Regions from separate parts of the Homo sapiens genome. Here regions 1 and 3 are each linked to region 2. Evidence: promoter capture Hi-C in human tissues and cell types (Jung and others, 2019). All regions are on one chromosome and are shown on one strand. Each heading gives the region's core, a stretch centred on a gene start or on the middle of the fragment in contact. The rest is flanking DNA. Distances are from core to core; before and after follow the strand shown. Region 1 overlaps PHF20 (PHD finger protein 20). Region 2 holds the start of UQCC1 (ubiquinol-cytochrome c reductase complex assembly factor 1). Region 3 overlaps ACSS2 (acyl-CoA synthetase short chain family member 2).

Evidence for each region. Contacts are between HindIII fragments. The study calls those that stand out against the background at their distance.
Region 1: a contact is called between a fragment that was not itself captured here and the fragment with the promoter of UQCC1 in region 2, in 2 of the 25 tissues and cell types used here (dorsolateral prefrontal cortex and psoas muscle).
Region 3: a contact is called between a fragment that was not itself captured here and the fragment with the promoter of UQCC1 in region 2, in 1 of the 25 tissues and cell types used here (IMR-90 fibroblasts).

What each region holds. Positions count from the first base shown.
Region 1 is chr20:35,941,444-35,946,109 of GRCh38, reverse strand. All of the region lies in intron 17 of PHF20 (PHD finger protein 20), which reads right to left. Among named protein-coding and RNA genes, the nearest start is that of SCAND1, 11 kb to the left of the region's middle. The HindIII fragment of the contact is 3,743 bases long and covers 278-4,020 here.
Region 2 is chr20:35,409,463-35,414,203 of GRCh38, reverse strand. UQCC1 (ubiquinol-cytochrome c reductase complex assembly factor 1) reads left to right here and starts at 2,231. Exons shown (of 10, transcript NM_018244.5): 1 at 2,231-2,264. The coding sequence starts at 2,241. RefSeq lists enhancers at 1,996-2,045, 1,253-2,075, 2,176-2,325, 2,386-2,485, 2,076-2,899. The HindIII fragment of the contact is 20,339 bases long and covers 1-4,741 here.
Region 3 is chr20:34,883,537-34,888,139 of GRCh38, reverse strand. The region is part of intron 2 of ACSS2 (acyl-CoA synthetase short chain family member 2); the gene reads right to left. Among named protein-coding and RNA genes, the nearest start is that of ACSS2, 9.2 kb to the right of the region's middle. The HindIII fragment of the contact is 9,492 bases long and covers 1-4,603 here.

The DNA.
Region 1 (4,666 bases), core at 900-3,399, 530 kb before region 2:
AACCTCCGCCTCCCGGGTACAGGCGATTCTCCTGCCTCAGCCTCCTGAGGAGATGGTATTACAGGCACACACCACCACGCCTGGCTAATTTTTGTTATTTTTAGTAGAGATGGGGTTTCATCATGTTGGCCAGGCTGGCCTCGAACTCCTGACCTCAGGTGATCCACCTGCCTTGGCCACTTTGAAAGTGCTAGGATTACAGGCATGAACCACCATGCAGGACCCCTTTAAATATTTAATGTAAGATTTCAGGTATTAATTAACATTATCATCATTGGTTCAATATCTAGAAAGCTGTCTTGCTTGTGAGAACAAGTATTTCTCTACAGAAAGATGTTTGTTCTTCCCTAAGCTACCCCCTAAAGCTCTGGCATTTGGGGAGAGACCATCTGGGAACCCTGCACCTTTGACAAGAACCACCCCCTGCAGGTAGCCCCTGTGCTATCCCAGCCTGCCTGTAGCCTTTCTAGTCCATGCACCAACCTGTACTGAGCACCTTCTGGACCCTGGAGTGCAGCAAAAGAAAGGCCCACCCAGTACCTCTTCATCAAGCAGCCTGCAACCTACTGCGCAATCCTCTCCTGTCCTCAGATGCAGCCCTACCTTCCTCTCCACCTTTCTAAATCCTCTGTTTCTTGTGAGCTATTCTTTAGGGAAGCCTTCCCCAACCCTATACCCTGAATCTGGTCCTTGTGTTACAGGTGCTATGATATCACATGTTCTCCTTTGAGCATTTACTATGGTTTGTCATTACAGGTAATGGGATGATTTGTTTAATATATGTCTCTCCCACTAGATCAAGTTCCACGAGGGCAAAGGCTGAGTCTGCCTTGCTTGCCACTATATCCCTAACACTCACCTGTGTCTGAAATGTGGCAAGCCTGCAACAAACACAGCGAGAGAAGGAATGTGTGGTCCAGCAAAGCGCCCTACCCATTGCTCTGGGCCCTATGTAGTTTATCCTCCTCCATCATATTTCTTGTTGGTATTTGGGGGTTCCAAGAAGGAGGAACCCTCTCTCTTCCTAATTCCAGCAAGTACAAGGACTTGGAAATAAGAAAAATAAGACCACCTCCTCAGACTTAAGCTTGAAAACCATTAGTAAAAGATCAGTCATGTGAGAGGAACTAGTGGCCTGCTGAGCAAGAAAACTGGATAGTGACCAGTTTCAAAACACCAGTAAGTCTTTAAAAAAAACTAGAAGGAGACAGGGGACTGTTCAGCAAACAGGCAGAAGAATAAATGGAGAGGCCGGACGTGCACGCCTGTAATCCCAACACCTTGGGAGGTCAAGGGAGGTGGATCACCTGAGGTCAGAAATTCAAGACAAGCCTGGCCAACATGGTGAAACCCCATCTCTATTAAAAATACAAAATCAGCCAGGTGTGGTGGCAGGCATCTGCCTGCTACTTGGGAGGCTGAGGAAGGAAGAGTCGCTTAAACCTGGGAGGCAGAGGCTTCAGTAAGCCGAGATCATGCCACTGTACTCCAGCCTGGGCGAGAAAGAGCAAGACTCCGTCTTAAAAAAATAAAATAAAATAAAAATAAATAAATGGACAAAAGGCAGTCAGGACTGGATGGGTCACTCCAACAGCAAAGAGAGTCAGTCAATCTTTTGCAAGATGATCCTACAGTTGCTGAGAGGCCCCTCTTAAGGTCACCCTAACTACCTTGGATCTAGTTCCAGGCTCACCAAAGACATCCCGATACTACGGTGGCCCAGGAGGCATGCACAGTGTGAAAGCGCACCAACGCTCAGACTGGAAGAGTCTAAGCCACTCAGTAGTGCCTGAGCTTGGTTAACAGGAGTGTGTGGAGTTCCTGAGATGGAAGCTGTCTGTCTAGGTCTGTTAGGCTGAAGAACAAAGCCAGGACTGTGGGAAGTCAACAGCATCTCCTCTGGACCCCAGCATCCAGCAGGCCACCCTCTCCATACCATGTGCTGCACCATCCCAAGTGTCTCTTTTAAAGATGCAGAACAGCTTCCAACTAGCATAGTGGTTGCTAGCAAGACAGAAGGTTACAGAGGAAAAAATTCTGTTCAAATACACTAAGATCATGTGTATAGAGACCACTGCTCACCAAGGCAACATTTTTTATTTAAGAAAATAATCTCTCTAATGCCAAAAGACTTTTTTACTTTTCATGGTCATTAAATATCCTTTGTCTTTTAGTTTTAAAGTACTGTTCAGGCTGGGTGCAGTGGCTCACACCTGTAATCCCAGCACTTTGGGAGCCCGAGGCAGGCAGATCATGAGGTCAGGAGATCGAGACCAGCCTGGCCAACATAGTGAAACCCCGTCTCTATTAAAAATACAAAAATTAGCCAGGCATGGCGGTGTGCACCTATAATCCCAGCTACTCGGGAGGCTGAAGCAGGAGAATTGCTTGAAGCCAGGAGGTGGAGGTTGTGGTGAGCCGAGATCGTGCCACTGCACTCCAGCCTGGGCAACAGACCGAGACTCCGTCTCAAAAATAAATAAATAAATAAATAAATAAAGTACTATTCATATAACTACATAAATAATTAAATAATGGCCAATTGTAAAACAATGGCATATATATATATATATTTCATATAATAGCTTACTAGGCTTTTTTTTTTTTTTTTTTAAAGAAATGGGGTCTTGCTCTGTCACCCAGGCTGGAGTACAGTGACACGATCATAGCTCACTGTAACCTTGAACTCCTTGGCCTCCCAAAGCACTGGGATTACAAGTGTGAGCCACCACGCCAGGTCAGCTTTTAAATTTTTTTAAATTTTTTATTTTCAGACTGAGTCTCACTCTGTTGCCCAGTCTGGAGTGCAGTGATATGATCTCAGCTCACTGCAACCTCCGCCTCCTAGATTCTGCTGCTTCAGCCTCCCAAGTAGCTAGGATTATACGTGTGCACCACCACACCCAGCTAAGCAGGCCGGCTTTTTAAAAAAGGAATGTTACATCCAAATTCCTATTTTAAAACTTGGTTATGAAAGCTTAGTTTAGGGCTGGGTACGGTGGCTCACGTCTATAATCCCAGCACTTTGGGAGGCCAAGGTGGGCGGATCATGAGGTCAGGAGATCGAGACCATCCTGGCTAACACAGTGAAACCCTGTCTCTACTAAAAATATAAAAAATTAGCCGGGCCTGGTGGCGGGCACCTGTAGTCCCAGCTACGCGGGAGGCTGAGGCAGGAGAATGGCGTGAACCCGGGAGGCGGAGCTTGCAGTGAGCTGAGATGGCACCACTGCACTCCAGCCCGGGCAACAGAGCGAGACTCCATCTCAAAAAAAAAAGAAAGAAAGAAAGCTTAGTTTATCTTGGTGTTTAAATAAAGAGTTGATTCCATAAAAAGGGATTTTGATTAATCTTAAATACTATGCAAAAGTCTGTTTACCTAAATAAAATCTTTAAGCTTTATCATTTATTTTAATGCTTTCTTGTTATCTCTCTCAGGGCCTAGAGTCTTAGAAATGTACAGAATATGTGGCTCTGAATTAGCAAGACACACAAGAGGTCATCTGTGAGGCCAAAGAAGGGGGTTCAGGCCTACCATCCTTGCCACACTGCCCATTCGGCAGGGCTAGAGAGGCCAAACCTGGCTGAAGAGAGGATTAAGGAAGTAAGATGTGAGTAGACTTTAACTTCTCCCTCAGGGAAGGTCCCTGTGGCAACAACCGAACATTCACCCTGTTTCCATGGTGCTAATCCTCTTTTCAGGGACTACAGAGCCACTCCTACTGCCATTCTCTCAAGAGCTACACTTTTTTGTCTAACATTATATCCTCCTTCAGCTCTCTAATAATATGTTTTTCACAGACAGTGGCATCAGTTACAATCCCTTTTTTTTAGTTTATTTTTTTAGAGACAGGGTCTGTGTTACACAGGCTGGAGTACCGTGACATAATCACAGCTCACTGCAGCCTCCAACTCCTGGGCTCAAGCAGTCCTCCCGCCTCAGCCTCCCAAGTAGCTGGGACTACACCCCTACACTTGGCTAGTTTTTTATTTTTTTGTAGAGACTGTGATGCCCAGGCTGGCCTCAAGCAATCCTCCCACCTTGACCTCCCAAAGTACTGGGATTATAGGTGTGAGCCACCACACCCAGCCTAGGTCTTGCTGTCTCTCTCACTGTCCTCCAACAGGGCAACTCTTTTTCCAGTCTAGCCAGATCATCCACCCTGAGTCCTCTCCAGTAGGAAACACCATCACTCTCCTTAAAGCTCAACTTCAGTCTCAGGAGTTTTAGGAAGCCCTCCTATTAGCACTCTCCTCCTCTGCATTGACATCAGCCACATGTGTCCCGGCCACACCTCATGGCATCACTTGTATAACAGATGGCATTTTCTCCTGAGTTATTTCATGTATGTTTTATATTCCCAGTTACAGTAAAAAATCATAGCCAGACTGTACCCAGAATCCTCAAACAACATTTCTTTTTTAACTGGGCTCCATTTTCAACATGAAAACAAATAATTAGGGAATATTTCAACAACCAAAACCGTCAACTTCCTGGAGAGAGACTGAACTTGATCATGTTCATCATCACCGGTTTGATCCTCCAGGCCTGTCCGTAACCACCAATATCTGGAAGGAATACTCAGGGCTATACAAATGACTCAGGCAAATTCTCAAATCTCTACTGGCTTACGAGGAGAAAGCTTCATTTTAGATTTTATCAAAG
Region 2 (4,741 bases), core at 982-3,481:
CAGGAGAATCACTTGAACCCGGGAGGCAGAGGTTGCAGTGAGCCAAGATCACGCCATTGCGCTCCAGCCTGGGCAACAAGAGTGAAACTCCGTCTCAAAAAAAAAAAGAAAAGATCTATTGTATAACATGGTGACTATACCCACTATGAATATGTATTGTATTCTTGAAAATTGCTTAAAGAACATATTTTAAACATTTCCAGCACAAAAATATGAGGTAATGCATATATTAATTAGCTTGACTTAGCCATTTCACAATGTATACATATTTTAAAACATCCTGGCCGGGGGCACGGTGGCTCACTCTTGTAATCCCAGCACTTTCGGAGGCCGATGTGGGTGGATCACCTGAGGTTAGGAGTTTGAGACCGTCCTAGCCGAAATGGCAAAACCCCGTCTCTACTGAAAACACAAAAATTAGCCAGGCGTGGTGGTGCGCATCTGTAATCCCAGCTACTTGGGAGTCTGAGGCAGGAGAATCGCTTGACTTGGGAGGTGGAGGTTGCAGTGAGCCGAGATTGAGCCACTGCACTCCAGCCTGGGCGACAAGAGTGAAACTCTGTCTCAAAAAAAAAAAAAAAAAGAAAAAAGAAAACATCCTGTTGTACACAATATATATTTTTTGTCAATTAATAAAAATCAATAAATTTAATTAAAAAAATAGTCGAGTGAAGTTATTTCCCATGACTAGCTCCTCTTCTTCCTTTAGATTTCATCTTACATGTCACTTTCTTGGAGAGGCCTTACCAACCTAACCAAAGTAGCTCCCCAGTTTTAATTTTTTTCACTGGGTTCCTATGCCTCCCCCACCAGTCTAAGAACTCCATGAAGCCAGTATGTCTTGTGTTCAGCACATAGGGAAGACTCAATAGGTCTTTGTTGACTGAATGAAATGAAAGAAGTCCTTCAACATCCTGCCCCTCTGCTCCCTCAACCCCCAAAGCACCAGTACTTTGTCTTCTCTTCTCTTGGGATGTAATGGAAGAGGAGTCTTCTACCAAGGCCGTTCTCTGCCACTTTCCTCAAGAAGCTCCTTGCCTCTTTGATTGATTCTCCTGTATACTCTTTTTTTTTTTTTTTTTTTGAGACGGAGTCTCGCTTTGTCACCCAGGCTGGAGTTCAGTGCCCCAGTCTCAGCTCACTGCAACCTCTGCCTCCCGGGTTCAAGCGATTCCCTGCCTCAGCCTCCCAAGTAGCTGGGATTACAGGCACACGCCACCATGCCCGGCTAATTTTTTTCGTATTTTCAGTAGAGACGGGGTTTCACCATATTGGTCAGGCTGGTCTTGAACTCCTGACCTCAGGCAATCCACCTGCCTCGGCCTCCCAAAGTGTTGGGATTACAGGCATGAGCCACCGGGCACGGCCCTGTATACTCTTCACTAATCTTTTCCTATCAATATGCAAAGATGTTTCCCTTAAACAACCAACCAACCACAAATCCCAAAAGTTTCTTCCTCTACCAGGCTTCAGATCGGCACATGACCGCCTTCTTGCCTTGACTTTCAGGAGTCTGGTATCCCCCGTATTCTTTTATCTTAGCCTCCTTCTCTGGCTTTTTTTTTTTTTTTTTTTTTTTTTTTTTTGAGACAGAGTCCAGTCCTGCTCTGTCGCCCAGGCTGGAGTGCAGTGGCGCGATCTCGGCTCACTGCAACCTCTGCCTTCAGAGTAGCTGGGATTACAGGCACACACCAACATGCCCGGCTACTTTCTTTGTATTTTTAGTTAGGGACGGGGTTTTGCCATGTTGGCCAGGCTAGTCTCGAACTCCTGATCTCAGGTGATCCGCCCGCCTCGGCCTCCCAAAGTGCTGGGATTACAGGCGTGAGCCACCGCGCCCGGTCTTCTGGCTCTTTCTAAAGATTGGGATTTCCTAAAGTCCTGTTCTTTTCAACCTCCATTGAAAAGTGTTGGGGTGGAGTTTGGGAAGGAGGGGCTGAGGAGTGAGGCTGGGTTAGGTGGGGAATAAAGAGAGGGATATGAGAAGCCCCGAGGTCTGGGGTCAAGGAGACAGGCGTGGGGGAAGGATTTGAACCACTGTTACGTGTAGTGGGGGAGACAGCAGGGAGAGCGTGCCCGGGCACGACAGCCTGGTGCACAGCCGAGAAAACAACAGCGCGTGCGCGTAGCGACCTCTTTGCGCCTGCGCCCCCCTTGCCAGTCTTTCGCCGGCAAAAGGAGGACGTAGAAAAGGGGACACCGGAAACTCACTCTTCACCCGGAAATGGTTATTGAGGAACATGGCGTTGCTGGTGCGAGTCCTTGTGAGTGAAGGAGTAATTTTCTACGGTAGCTCTCTGGGTCCCGGGTTGGAGTTCGACAAGGCAGGGCGGGAGGAATTGGAAGGAATCGCAGGAGGGAAGCCTGTGTTATAGCTAGGCTGAGTGGCCGCTTTTCCGTGGGGAAACTGAGGCAGCTTCCGACCTCTTCCTACCCCGTTTTGACCTTAGCTCCCCCATCTTTCGAGAAGGGGAAGACTGACATCTGGCCTTTATTTGATGGGGTTTACTTTTCCTTCCCTCCCCCATGTACCTGCTTCCCCTCAGGGAGAGGAGCATGTAGGACACTGATTGGAGTTTCAGGAGGCCTGGGTTCTAGTCCCTGACTGTCACTGATGCATAGTGACTTTAAGCAAGTCACTTTTGGGCCTCATTGACCCTATGTGAAAAACGAGGACATTTATCTCCTGCAGTCCCTTTAGATTCTGAGATTCTCAGGGTTTCTTTCATAGGTAATAAGTCAGTTCTTAACTGTACAGTTAAGTGGAATATAGATTATTAGATTGAAAGCTGCGTGAGAATTGGAGTCATGTCTGTCTCCGTCGTTTTCACTTTGCCTAGCATGGTGTCTGGCACATCATAGGTGTTAAATGATTACTTGTTGAATAAATGAATGAAGTAAGGAAAGACTACCAGACTCTTTAGCACCCGTGTGTGAAACTACTGCACCTCTTGAGATTTAGTCCTGACCCTTCTAGCATACTCTTTTCTCTAGCAATTAAAGGAGAAAAGAAAGTGGCAGCAGAAAAAACGTTAGGATACAGAGCTTAGTTTTTAATCATGGAGGGATGGGAGAGTGTATAGTTTTAGCGAGTCTTCAAAAACTGGGTCAAAGACACTGTTTTTCATAGTAGACATGGTCTATTCCTGTGTCTAGGTAACTTCTGAATTGTTATTTTACATTTGTGTTTTTGATCTTTTTATATATGTCTTACAAGGACGACAGTTTTACTTCTTGTATTCCTTGCCAGCCTAGCAGAGTGAGGTACCCTCGACTGCTGTTCAGTAAATATTTATTTGTAGAGTAGCCCCTGTAACTGCCAGAAAGATTCACCTGGTGAAGTGATTGTTTGATTTCAGGCCAGAAATTGATTCAGAAATGAGGACTGCTGGGGAAATGGCAATTAGAATGTTCTGAATTTAGTGGTTTTTTTTTTTTTTTTTTTTTTAATCCTTCCCCTGCCACCCTTTAGGGTTTTGTTTTTTTTTTTTTTTTTTTTGAGGCAGAGTCTTGCTCTGTCGCCGAAGCTGGAGTGCAGTGGTGCCATCTCGGGCTCACTGCAACTTCTGCTCCCGGGTTCAAGCAATTCTCCTGTGCCAGCCTCCCGAGTAGCTGGGATGACAGGCATGCACCACACCACACCTGACTAATTTTTGTATTTTTTTTTTTTTTGAGATGGAGTCTCGCTCTGTCACCCAGGGTGGAGTTCAGCGGTGTGATCTCGGCTCACTGCAACCTCTGCCTCCTGGGTTCAAGCAGTTCTCCTGCTTCAGCCTCCCAAGTAGCTGGGATTACAGGCGCCTGCCACCACACCTGGCTAACTTTTGTATTTTTAGTAGAGATGGAGTTTCACCATGTTGGCCAGACTGGTCTCGAACTCCTGACCTCATGATCCGCCTCCTGCGGCCTCCCAAAGTGCTGGGATAACAGGCATGAGCCACCGAGCCTGGCCTGACAACTATCATTTTATAGGGCACTTACTACGTGCTAAGCACTTTAAAATACTTACCTAATCCTTATAACATCCCTTTGGAAAGGAGGGCGTGTTATTTCCTCTATTTTACAGATAAGAAAACTGAACCACAGAGAGGTATTCCTGGCCAGGTGCCGTGGCTCACACCTGTAATCCCAGCACATTGGGAGGCTGAGGTAGGTGGATCACTTGAGGCCAGGAGTTCAAGACCAGCCTGGCCAACGTGGTGAAACCCTGTCTCTACTAAAAATACAAAAATTAGCCAGGCCTGGTGGTGGGCGCCTGTAATCCCAGCTACTCGTGAGGCTGAGACACGAGAATTGCTTCAACCCAGGAGGCGGAGGTTGCAGTGAGCTGAGATTGTGCCACTGCAGTCCAGCCTGGGTGAAAGAGTGAAACTCTGTCTGAAAAAAAAAAAGAAGTATTCCTGAAACATTCTTGTTAGTCTTGCTTTATTTTTTCCTCTTTTTGTCTTGTCAGCCAATATTTTCCCTTCTCCAGTGATGGTTTTGGGAAGGAGGAGGAAACTAAAACACTGCTATTGTTGAATGACTACAGCAGAGAGCCTGGACATTTGATCAGTGGAACTGGACATGCTTATGGTTTTTATGAGTTGTCCTGGGCATTGCTGATCATTTCTGCTTTTCTTTGGAAATAGTAAAAATTGCAGAAAGCCACCCTGTACTTTAGAAAATTAAAAAAAAGTTGTGGTAAAATACATGTAACAAAATTTACCTTTTAAACTTTTTTTTTTTTTTCTGAGACGGA
Region 3 (4,603 bases), core at 1,056-3,555, 530 kb after region 2:
CTATTTGTGTAAGTAGCTCTTTGCAGTTTGGCCCATAATTCTTTTCAGGCTTTTTTTTTTTTTTTTTTTTTTGATGGAGTCTTGCTCTGTTGCCCAGGCTGGAGTACATTGGCTTGATCTCGGCTCACTGCAACCTCTGTCTCCTGGGTTCAAGCAATTCTCCTGTCTCAGCCTCCCAAGTAGCTGGGATTACAGGAGTGCGCCACCACACCTGGCTATTTTTGTATTTTTAGTAGAGATGGGGTTTCGTCTTGTTGGCCAGGCTGATCTTGAACTCCTGACCTAAGGTGATCCGCCCGCCTCAGCCTCCCAAAGTGTTGGGATTACAGGCGTGAGCCACTATGCCTGGCCCAGGCTGTTTTTATGTAGATCTATTTGTTTTGTTTTATTTTGTTTTTGAGATGGAGTTTCGCTCTTGTCGCCCAGGGTGGAGTGCAATGGCACGATCTCGGCTCACTACAACCTCTGCCTCCTGGGTTCAAGCCATTCTCCTGCCTCAGCCTCCCAAGTAGCTGCAATTACAGGCACCTGCCACCACATCCAGCTGATTTTTGTATTTTTTAGTAGAGACAGGGTTTCACCATGTTGGCCAGGCTGGTCTCGAACTCCTGACCTCAGGTGATCCACCTGCCTTGGCTTCCCAAAGTGCTGGGATTACAGGCATGAGCCATTGTGCCCGGCCAATCTATTTGGTCTTTCCAAATAGAATGTAAATTCCATGAGACTAGGGTCTGGGACATTTAAACCTAATAACACATTTTATCTGGTATTTTAAAGTTAATTTAAATCAGTTTGGCTAATGTGGCTAATTTCTCTTTTTATCTGTCACAGCCAAGTGCTGGACTACTAGAATAATGAGGTAGTGTCACGAGTGAAAAAAAATAGTTGACTAGGAGTGAGAGTATCTGGAGATTAGTCTCAGTTCTGTCTTCAAACAGGTGTATGACCCTTAGGCAAATCACTTAGCTTCTTTGTCCCTTAATCTACCAATCTTTGAAGAGAGTTGGCCTAGATGGACTCTAACGGTCACTTCAAGTTCTAAAAATACTACTATTCCGTGAACATTTGCAATGTGTCAAGCCAAAAGTAAAAGGCCAAATTATTCCTTAATATGGTTCTATTTTGGATAATGGGAGTACTTTCCTAAGAGCACCATTTCCTTTGTGGATAATTTCAATGACTACACAATGTATGTTCCAAAACAAGAAACTAGCTACAAATGTGGCTTGTTAATGCCACCATAGCTGTCTAAATGACATAAAGTTAAGAAGAAAGCCATAATGTGTTTCTATAAGAAGTATATCAATTGGAGCGAATCACAGAAAAGATGTCATTTTTAAAAGCATTAGTAAGAATTAGAACAGAAAGAAGTGAGCTCCAAGAGGGAGAACTTTGGGAGGAAAAGGAGGATTTCATATGATAGTGAGATTGGAAAATATTAAATATATGATAAAGGCTTAAATAGTACAAAAAGAAAAACGGTAAGCAATTATTATTATTACTTTTATTGTTTTTTGAGACAGAGTCTTGCTCTGTCACCCAGGCTGGAGGGCAGTGGTGTGATCTTGGCTCACTGCAACCTCTGCCTCCCAGGTTCACGCGATTCTTCTGCCTCAGCCTCCCAAGTAGCTGGGACTGCAGGTGTGCACTACCATGCCCAGCTAATTTTTTTTTTGTATTTTTAGTAGAGATGAGGTTTCACTATTTTGGCCAGGCTTGTCTAGAACTCCTGACCTCAGGTGATCTGCCCGCCTCTGCTTCCCAAAGTGTTGGGATTACAGGTATAAGCCACTGCACCCAGCCCAGTAAGCAATTATTAACTTCAGAGTAAATAAAAATCCGTACATAAAAGGAAATATAACCACAGTATGCTATTCTTATGTAAACTGATTTTAAATTAACTAGAAAACAGCTATAATTATATTGAGAAGAAGAGAGAAGGAAGTTAGAGAGGTATATAAGAACTAAATTCTTATCTATCGTAGTAAGAAATCAATACTTTCTTTAAAAATGATGAAAAATAGCAGTATAAGCATATCATTTAAAAATATAGAGGCAACAAAGGGATGTAACCACATATCCGGCATATTTGCACTTTACTTTCTTATAATAAAATGCAATTTATTTGTATTTTGCTTTTGCTTTACTATAAACATAAAATAATTAAATAGTAATTGCCTATATGGTACTTGTCTCCTGCCTTTTTACCCCCATATCCATAATGCCTAATGCAGCCCTGAGTATCCAATATCTTTAACAATTCTTGTTGAGGGAGTGACCAATGTAAAAATGGAGTGAGGATGTCTTGTTTTTGAGTTACAGAATTTTGCACTGGAAGTAAATTTAGAGATTATTTAATCCAGTGCTTCCCCAGTGGGTGTTCCATGGAATACTGCTTCTTGTGATATCAATAGCATGCTGGCAAAAAGTGTTTGGGGCTTCAATAAATTCAGGAAATCCTATGTTAAACAAAATTAATCAGGTATCTCTAATATAGGACATCTTGGAGATTTTACTATGCTAATACACATTGGGAATCTCACACAAAGGCAATTTATTATGTAGTGTTTCTCAGACTCAATCATTTTATGAATTAAGAAGCCCCCTACTAATATCTCCAGTAATTAGCAGTTCCTGAAGCATTCTTTGGAAAATGCTGATCTAGTCTACTCCTCTCATTTTACAGATGGGGAAAGAGAGGCTCTCCAGAGCCTGTTCAGGTAAGGGTGGTAGGGGAACTGGTGTCTCTAGAAAGAAAGGGCCTCAGGATTCTGGAAAACTCTCCAGTGATTGAAAACTCTGGCCTGTGTATTCTGTTTTCCATTAGGCACCTGAGTTCTTTCAAACCAGGGAACAAATTCAGATACAAGCATTTCCTTTTATGATCTTTTTTTTCCTCTTTTTATTTTTCTTATTTTATTTTTATTACTATTACTTTTTGAGACAGGGTCTTGCTCTGTTGCCCAGGCTGGAGTACAGTGGTGTGATCTGTGCTCACTGCAACCTCCGCCTCCTGGGCTCAAGCAATCCTCCCACCACAGCCTTTCAAGTAGGTGGGACTACAGGCGTGCACCACCATGCCCAGCTAATTTTTGTCTTTTATGTAGAGAGGGAGTTTTGCCATGTTGCCCAGGCTGGTCTCGAACTCTTGAGCTCAAGCAATCCACCTGCCTTGGTCTCCCAAAGTGCTGGGATTACAGGCATGAGGCACCATGCCCAGCCTATTTCTTTCTTTTTTGTGAAATAGAGATGGGGGTCTCACTGTGTTGCCCAGGCTGGTCTCAAACTCCTAAGCTCAAGCAACCCTCTTGCCTCAGCCTCCCAAAGTGCTGGGATTACAGGCATGAGCCACCATGCCCGGCCTCCTTTGAAGATCTTTAAAGGTTTTCTGATCTTTAAAGAGCCTGGGAAATGAGCCCAAGTGTTGGCTGGAGCTCAAGCATAAAGCTCTAGAGCAGAAGCTAAAGAGAGTCTCAACAGACACAATGGACAGTGAATTTCAGTGACAAACTGGCCCCCAACTAAGCAATGGTAGTATAATAATAGACCACTCACACCTATACAGTGTTTTCCAATAAACAAATAAGTGCTTTTACAACGTTATCTCATTTGATTCTTACAACAATCTAGAGAGAAAAACAAGGATAGAATTATTATCCCCATTTTATGGAAGAGGAAACTGACTCTTAGTTAAATGCCTTGTCTGTGGTTATATAACATGTTAATGGCAGAGTTGAAAGGAGAACCTAAATTTCTTGTCTCTCAGGTTAAGGCTCTTCTCAATATATCACACAAACTGGGCAAAGATATTGAGTGAGTTTCAATTTAACTCTCCCATGAAGCATCCAAGCTGCTCCTATTGGCTAGCTTAAATAATTAATCAGGCCAGACATGGTGGCTCACACTAATCCCAGCACTTTGGGAGGCCAAGACAGGTGGATCGCTTGAGTTCAGGAGTTTGAGAACAGCCTGGGCAACATGGTGAAACCCCATCATTACAAAAAATACTAAATACAAAATACAAAAATTAGCCAAACGTGGTGGTGCATGTCTGTAGTCCCACCTACTCAGGAGGCTGAGGTGGCAGGATTGCTTGAGCAGGGGAGGCAGGGCAGAGGTTGCAGTAAGCCAAGATCATGCCGCTGCTCTCCAGGCTGGGCAACAGAGCAAGATCCTGTCTCCAAAAAAACAAAACAAAACAAAACAATACAAAAACAATAGATCAACTCTGAGTGCTCATAGATTGTGGCAGAAGCAACACCCCAATTATTGGAATTTCTAAGTCCTATTTGGATTCGGTATAGTAGTATCTCCTAGACAGCTAAATTCCTGGGAGAAGCAGTCTTAGAAATTTCCTGCTGGGGAGGCTGCATGGCCTAGTGGTACAAGCAAGGAGTCAGGCAGACTTGAATTTGAATCCTGGCTCTACCACTTATTCACTCTATGACCTTATTCACTACATAACCCTTCAATGCTTCATTTGTTCACCTATAAAATGAAACTAAGAATTCCTATTTTACAAACCTGTTGAGAGGCCAAGGTAAGGAATTAGAGGAATAATAGAGTGTCATGGTTGTGTGTAAGCTCTGTAATTATACTGCCT